2 separate regions of the Homo sapiens genome follow, and region 2 is linked to region 1. The links are contacts of gene promoters, found by promoter capture Hi-C in human tissues and cell types (Jung and others, 2019). All regions are on one chromosome and are shown on one strand. The core of a region is centred on a gene start or on the middle of the fragment in contact, and the rest is flanking DNA. Distances in the headings are between cores, read along the strand shown. Region 1 holds the start of ZMIZ2 (zinc finger MIZ-type containing 2). Region 2 has its middle 96 kb from the start of CCDC201.

The links. Contacts are between HindIII fragments. The study calls those that stand out against the background at their distance.
Region 2: a contact is called between a fragment that was not itself captured here and the fragment with the promoter of ZMIZ2 in region 1, in 1 of the 25 tissues and cell types used here (dorsolateral prefrontal cortex).

The regions. Positions count from the first base shown.
Region 1 is chr7:44,746,898-44,750,355 of GRCh38, forward strand. ZMIZ2 (zinc finger MIZ-type containing 2) reads left to right here and starts at 1,950. Exons shown (of 19, transcript NM_031449.4): 1 at 1,950-2,094. RefSeq lists silencers at 1,445-1,974, 2,085-2,194, 2,205-2,254. The HindIII fragment of the contact is 31,122 bases long and covers 1-3,458 here.
Region 2 is chr7:45,775,216-45,778,673 of GRCh38, forward strand. It overlaps the pseudogene GTF2IP13. Among named protein-coding and RNA genes, the nearest start is that of CCDC201, 96 kb to the right of the region's middle. The HindIII fragment of the contact is 6,550 bases long and covers 1-3,458 here.

The DNA.
Region 1 (3,458 bases), core at 700-3,199:
TTCCTAACACTCTTTCTGACAGACACACTGTTACCTGTTAACTCATTTCCTTCTGTTTGTCCCCTCTAACATGCTTGCTGTATGGATGGAGGGGCCTTATTCTCCTGGTTCCTGGGGACAGACCAGTGTTCACAGACCCCAGACCAGGGACTGTTGTACAGCAGGCCTGCCATATTTGTTCAATGAACGAATGATTCCCAAAAGAAATAGAGCACAGAGTTCAGAGGCGGCCTTCAGGGAAGAAATTTCAACAATGTCAAAAATTAATTGTGGAGTATCCATTGATAGATGAATGGATAACTTAAATGTGGAATATGCATACAATGGAATATTATTCAGCCATAAGAAAGAAGGGGCTGGGCGCCGTGGCTCACGCCTGTAATCCCAACACTTTGGGAGGCCCAGGCAGGCGGATCACGAGGTCAGGAGATCGATTCCATCCTGGCCAACATGATGAACCCCGTCTCTACTAAAACACACACACAAAAAAATTAGCCAGGCGTGGTGGCGTGCCCCTGTAGTCTCAGCTACTCAGGAGGCTGAGGCAGGGGAATCGCTTGAACCTGGGAGGTGGAGGTTGCAGTGAGCCGAGATTGCACCACTGCACTCCAGCCTGGCGACAGAGTGAGACTCCGTCAAAAAAAAGAAGGGAAGGGAAGGGGAGGGAAGAAGGAAGGAAAGAAGGAAGGAAAGAAAGAAAGAAAGAAAGAGAGAGAGAAAGGAAAGAAAGAAAGAAAGAAAGAAAGAAAGAAAGAAAGAAAGAAAGAAAGAAATTCTGACACATGCCACAACATGGATGGAAGTGAGGACACTGTGCTAACTAAAGTAAGACTGTCACAAAAAGACATATAATGTATGATTCCACTTATACGATGTCCTTAGAGTAGTCTAATTTAGAGACGAATAGTGAATGCCAAAGGCTAGGAGGAGGAAAGAATGGGGAGCTAGTGTTTACTGGGTATGGAGTTTCCATTTGAGAAGATGAAAAAGTCCTGGAGACGGTTGGTGGTTGCACAAGAATGTGAATGTACTTGGTGCCACAGAACTACACTTGGAAACAGTTAAGATGGTAAGTTTTACGTTATGTGTATTTTACCACAATTAAGAAAAATTAATTATGGGTAGTTGAGAGAATGTGGTCTTCCTCAACTTACGGTAGGAAAAGTCAAGAATAACTTAAAGGCTGATAATAGCATTTCAAAGATCGAAACTGATCAGAGAGGCTATTCCATCAGGCTAGACTAGCTCAATAGTGACTTTTTCCAGAAGGAGAACCACTGGGAAGAGAGAACTGAGCAGTGAGGACAGCGAACTTGTTAAGTTTAGTTTTCTGCTTTAACGAGGGGCTTCCGGAGTCCTTTAATAAGATCCCCTCCCAAAAGTGGCACCCTGGGTCTCTCTGTCTCCCAGTCGTGTCCCCGCCCGCCGGGCCAGAGCAATGGACTCCCAGGAAGCAGGGGGGGCGCGGGCGGGGCGCGGGCGGGGCGGGTGGGGGAAGGGCAAGGACTCACTCTTCCTTTCCTCCTCCGCCGGGGCCCGCCCCGAGCCCTGGCCCCACCCCGGCTCTCTGGATCCGCCTCCTCCTCCCGACCCCGCCCCGGCACCTTGGCCCCGCCTTCCACTCGGCCCCGCCCCGGCGTCCTGGCCCCGCCTCCGCCGCCCGGCCCCGCCCCGCTCCCGGCGGACTGCGAGCAGGAAGAGCGCAGTGGCTCTGCCGACGCCGCGTTCAGAAAGGTGTGGAGGGGGCTGGGGGCGCAGGTCGCGATCAGGCTGCGTCTCCTGCCCGCCCAGCCACCTGCGGCCCTGGCCCCACCCTGCCGCTTTGGGCCGCTCGGGCTCGCGGCCGCCCCCGCCCCGAGCGCCGGCTCGGGGCTCTGCTGCTCTGGCCTGGGAGGCGGGGCCGGCTGCGCGGCGTCATGCATATGCATGAGCGGCGCGGCGGCGGCTCCATTGTGCCCTCGGAGCGGGCGGCGGCGCGATGGCGCGGGTGGCGGCGGCCCCGGGGCGGCGGGCGGCGCGGAGGGCGGGCTGAGCGCATGGAGCGGCGCGGGCCGGGGGCCGCCACGGCGAGGGGCCGGGCCAGGCCGGGCGGAGGTGAGCGGGGTCCTGGGGGTGGCCCCTGGCAACGCCGCCAGCAGGCAGGTGTGGGCCGGCGGGGGCAGGCAGGTGCGGCAGGTGCGGGCCGGCAGGTGCGGGCGGGCAGGCAGGTGTAGCTGGTCGCCCGGGGCGCCCCGGTTCCGCTGCGGCGCCACGGTAGGGTTCACAGCTGGGCTGGGGCTAGAGGCTCTGCCGCCCACCTGCCGGCACCTGCCACGCGTGCGTCGTGGTCTTGGGCAGGCTCGGCCCCGTGGGCGTCAGGGTCATCCAGCCCTCCCCTGAGTCTTTGTTGGAGGCTGGCCGAGGGGTGTAAGCGGCGCTCGGGGTTCTCCTGAGCGATGAAGGCTGGCCGGGCCTTCGCTCCAACCTGATCGTTCCTAGCTTTGGGGCCAGGCAGTCTCACCTACATGGTACGCCCCTCCGCTCCTACTTACGTGCCCACCAGCACGGCGATGTGGGGGCCGTCTGAGGCCGTCACCTGCTCGCGGAGGAGCTGTTCCGCTCCTGGGCTGAACGACGCTGAGCGGCCAGCCCCCAGCTGCCAGTTTTGATGGGGACACCCCTTTCCAAACTGGACATACTGAAGCTCAGGCGTGAGGATGCCCTGCTCCCCTGAGGTGCCTTGTCTTCCCTAGTGCCAGGTGTCCTTCACCGCGGCACCCCCACCCGGTGCCTTGTTTACCCCTCCACCTACCGTGTCTCTCCTCCCATTCCCTGGACCCTCTGCCCTGCAGTGTTCTGCCTCTCCTTCTCCCTAGGGTACCCTCTTTCCAGTATTACAGAACATCCATGGTGGTGTCTTTAATTTGTGTCATCGCAGATTTCACAGGGACACACACGGAACATGTGACTTGGTCTGAGACCGTGGTGATTACGGATAGGATGGACACAGACTCACCACCAAGTTCTGGCAAGCTAGAACCAGAGGGCATCCCTTGATGCTTAGTGTGGAAACAGGAGAAGTGAAGGAATCTTAACTTCCAGAGGTACTGACCTCTAGCCCTTGTCATGCCCAGGGGATAGTTACAAGCTGGAAGTGTAAATGAAGAGAACAAGCAGGTGACAGTTGCCGGTTGTAGATTTCTGAAGGACAGGCCTAAGATGTTTGGGGAGCATCCTGATTATTGGGATTGAGCTCCCAAGGGCTGATGACATGAAGGTGGTCATGTGTCCTCAGTCCTAGGATGCTACCAGATATCCATCTTACACATTGTAAACTGATGCCAGGTTAAGGTTGTCCCTTCAGCTGTTCACTGAAATGTCTCATGCCTGGGCCATTGCTTATTCCTGGACTTTTTGATGAACTCTGCATCCTGACTTAGCCCCACGCTTAGACATTTTAGTACTGTGGCCTTACAGGT
Region 2 (3,458 bases), core at 466-2,965, 1.0 Mb after region 1:
GTGGTCCTGGTGGGGGCTGGGGCTTTTCCCCAGACTGAGGTCACACCCAGAGCCAGAAATCTTGGTGCCTGCTCTGGGCAAAGGTGCCAGCCTGTGCGACAAGAGCGAAACTCCGTCTCCAAAACAAAAACAAAAAACCTTGCATCATTTCAAGGGGCTCACACCTCCCTAAGGGCCTGGTAATTGGCTGGCTCTGGCCTGCATCTAGCCCCGAGGGTGTAGGTAACACCCCACCTTACCTGGTTTCTTCCTGCCAGGGCCAATCTTCAGACCTCAGGACTTTGCAGCCTATCCCACCTCCCCTCTGGCCAGCCTCGAGCCGTTGTGGGTCCAGCACTTTTTCCAGGCTGTCTCCTGGTTGTCCTTCTGCCTTGAGGCCTGGCTCATGCTGCTCCCCTTCCCACTCACCAAGACCCACAAGGACCACTCCACACCCAGCTCAGCCCCATCCCCTCAGATAGTCCTCTCTCTTTCCTCAGGTGGCCAGGTGCATATCTTGGTGTGAGGACCTTCACTGTATCTGGGAATGCCTACTGGTCACCTCGGTGACAGAGACCAAGGCATTTACCTGATATGAGTGTCTTGGTTCATTGTCTACATGGCTAGGGAGGGAGTCAATAATAGGCTTTTCACTTGCTGCAAGGGCCGGTTCTCCTGGCCCCATGGCTCTAGGGATGGAGGACACTGCAGGAGATGCACCGCTCACTTCCCAGCTGAGGACTGTGGGTCATCTCAGGGCGATTTCACAGTCCCCACATGCCCCACCCCCTCAGCTCTGCAAATACCAAGCAGCGCAGCCTGCCTAGGGGATGATGGGCTCGAGAGTGCCCAGGTAGTGCCCAGAGTGCCCTTGGCAGGCCCCTCACCTAGCTGCTTCCACAGCTCTGTAGCAAGAGTTCTAAACTTTTTTGACCGTGAAGTCTGCTGAGAATAAGAGCTGTGGACTGTTTTCCCAGAAAGGCATGTATGTGCTCTCCACACAAAACCTTTCATTGTGGCCAAGCACAGTGGCTCATGTAATCCCAGAACTTTGGGAGGCAGAGCCATTCGGATCACCTGAGGTCAGGAGTTCAAGACCAGCCTGCCCAACATGACGAAACCCTGTCTCTACTAAAAATACAAAAAATTAGCCAGGTGTGGTGGCAGCCACCTGTAATCCCAGCTACTCCGGAGGCTGAGGCAGGAGAATCACTTGAACCCGGGAGGCGCAGGTTGTAGTGTGGTGAGATCACGCCACTGCACTCCAGCCTGGGCGACAGGAGCGAAACTCTGTCTCAAAAAACAAAACAAAACAAAGCCTTGCATCCTTTCAGGGGGCTCACACCTCCCTAAGGGGCCAGTAATTAAACCCCTTGGGCCTGAGGGTGAGAAACTTTGTCTCAGTTCTTCCCCGAGTGATCAGCCCAGGGGTAAGGAAGGAGAAGCCAGAAAGCAGGACCCATGAGAAGGGCCCACTCCTGGAGTTTGAGGCCCACTCCCTCCTGCCCCTGCCTCTCCTCTGTCCAGGACTCCTCCCTGCTCTGCCCCACTCCTGGGGCCATAACCATGGGGAGCTGTGGTTTTCTACAGGCTCCTGGGCACAAAGTGGGCAGGCTCACCTGGAGGCGATCAGAGCAACATGGCAGGAAGTGAGGGGGAAAGCCGCCCTGGAACTGCGCCTCTCTGCCCCCTGACGTCGCTGGCGTGCACTCCTCCCTCCCCTCACTCAGGCAGTGGCAAGAGTTCCATGTGAGCACTGTCCTGCTCCCTCTGCTGCCCTTTTTTTTTCTTGGGGCTACCATAACACTCCCTTCCCCAGCCCTGCCAACCTGGTGGGACATTGGGCTTCCCTCTCACAGGGTCCTGGGGACAGGCCCATCCTTTATCATACCCACAGAGAGACCCCTTTTTTTCTTCAGGACCTGGGGAGCAGCCAGGTTCCATGAGTTAAATGCAGATCTGAACCAAGCTGGGACTGGGGTACACACTCTCCTCTGCTGAAAAGTAGCTAGGGATTCCAACTAGGTGAGAAGGAGAGTGGGGCAGAGCCAGACCAGACAAGGACTGATCACCTGGAAAAAGCCTGCCATCAAAGGTCTTGGCAAATGCTGGGTGCAGTGGCTCACTCCTGTAATCCCAGCACTTTGGGGGGCTGAGACAGGTGGACTACTTGAGGCAAGGAGTTCGAGTCCAGCCTGGGCAACATGGCAAAACCCCATCTCTACTAGAAATACAAAAATTAGCTAGGCATGCTACACTCCTGTAATCCCAGCTACTCAGGAGGCTGAGGCAGGAGAATCACTTGAACTGGGGAGGCGGAGGTCGAAGTGAGCCGAGATTGTGTCCCTGCACTCCAGTCTGGGAGACAGAGTGAAACTAGGCCTCAAAAAAAAAAAAAAAAAAAAAAGAATATGGCCTTGGCAGAGAGGGGCCAGCCCGGCAGTGCCTTCCCTTGGGTTTCTCCTGGGTAGGCCTCTGCCATGAGGAGGCGCTTCCTTCTGCCTGTCCATGGCCCACAGCAATGGAATGTCTGCTTCTAGGGGTTGGGTGGGAGACTGCTGGCAGAACTGGAAACCTTCAGGTGGGGTTTTTTTGTTTTGTTTTGTTTTCGAGATGGAGCACCGCTCTGTCACCCAGGCTGGAGTGCAGTAGTGGAATCTCAGTTCACTGCAACCTCCGCCCCCCTGAGTTCAAACAATTCTCCTGTCTCAGCCTCCTGAGTAGCTGAGATTACAGGCATGTGCCACCATGCCCGGCTATTTTTTGTATAGATGGCATTTCGCCATGTTGGCCAGGCTGGTCTCGAACTCCTGACCTCAAGTGATCCACCAACTTCGGCCTCCCAAAGTGCTGGGATTACAGGCATGAGCCACTGAGCCCAGCCCCTTCAGGGGGTTTTGAGGCTTCACTACAATACTAGTTTCCTGTGGCTGCTGCAACAAATTACCACACACTTAGTAACTTAAAACAACCAAAATGTATTCCCTTACAGGTCTGAAGGCCAGAATTCTACAGTAAGTCCTACTGAGTCAAGGTGGGAGCAGGGTCGGTGGCTTCTGAGGCTCTGTGGGAGAATCTGTTTCCTGGCCGTGGAGGTGGCCTGCACTCCTCAGCTTGTGCTGCCCGTCTCGAATGACTGGAGTTTCCTGCTTCTGTCACTACACCTCCCACCCTCTCCATCACCTGCTCTGCTCTTATAAGGATCTGGGTGAGTACATCAACCCCAACAGCCAAAGACCCTTAACTTCATTATATCTGCAAAGCCCCTTTTGCCATATAAGGTCATGTTCACCAGTTCCCGGGATTAGGATATGGGCATCTTGGGGACATCAGCCTGCTACAGCTAGGCTGCAAAACTATTACACCCTCCTGGTGTTTCAATGATTGGGAGAAAAAGGGTTGGCATTTTTTGCTTAGGGGTCCCTCTTAAACTTATATCTGTAAGGTCTGGGGTCCCTCTTAACCTTGTGTTTGTTTTT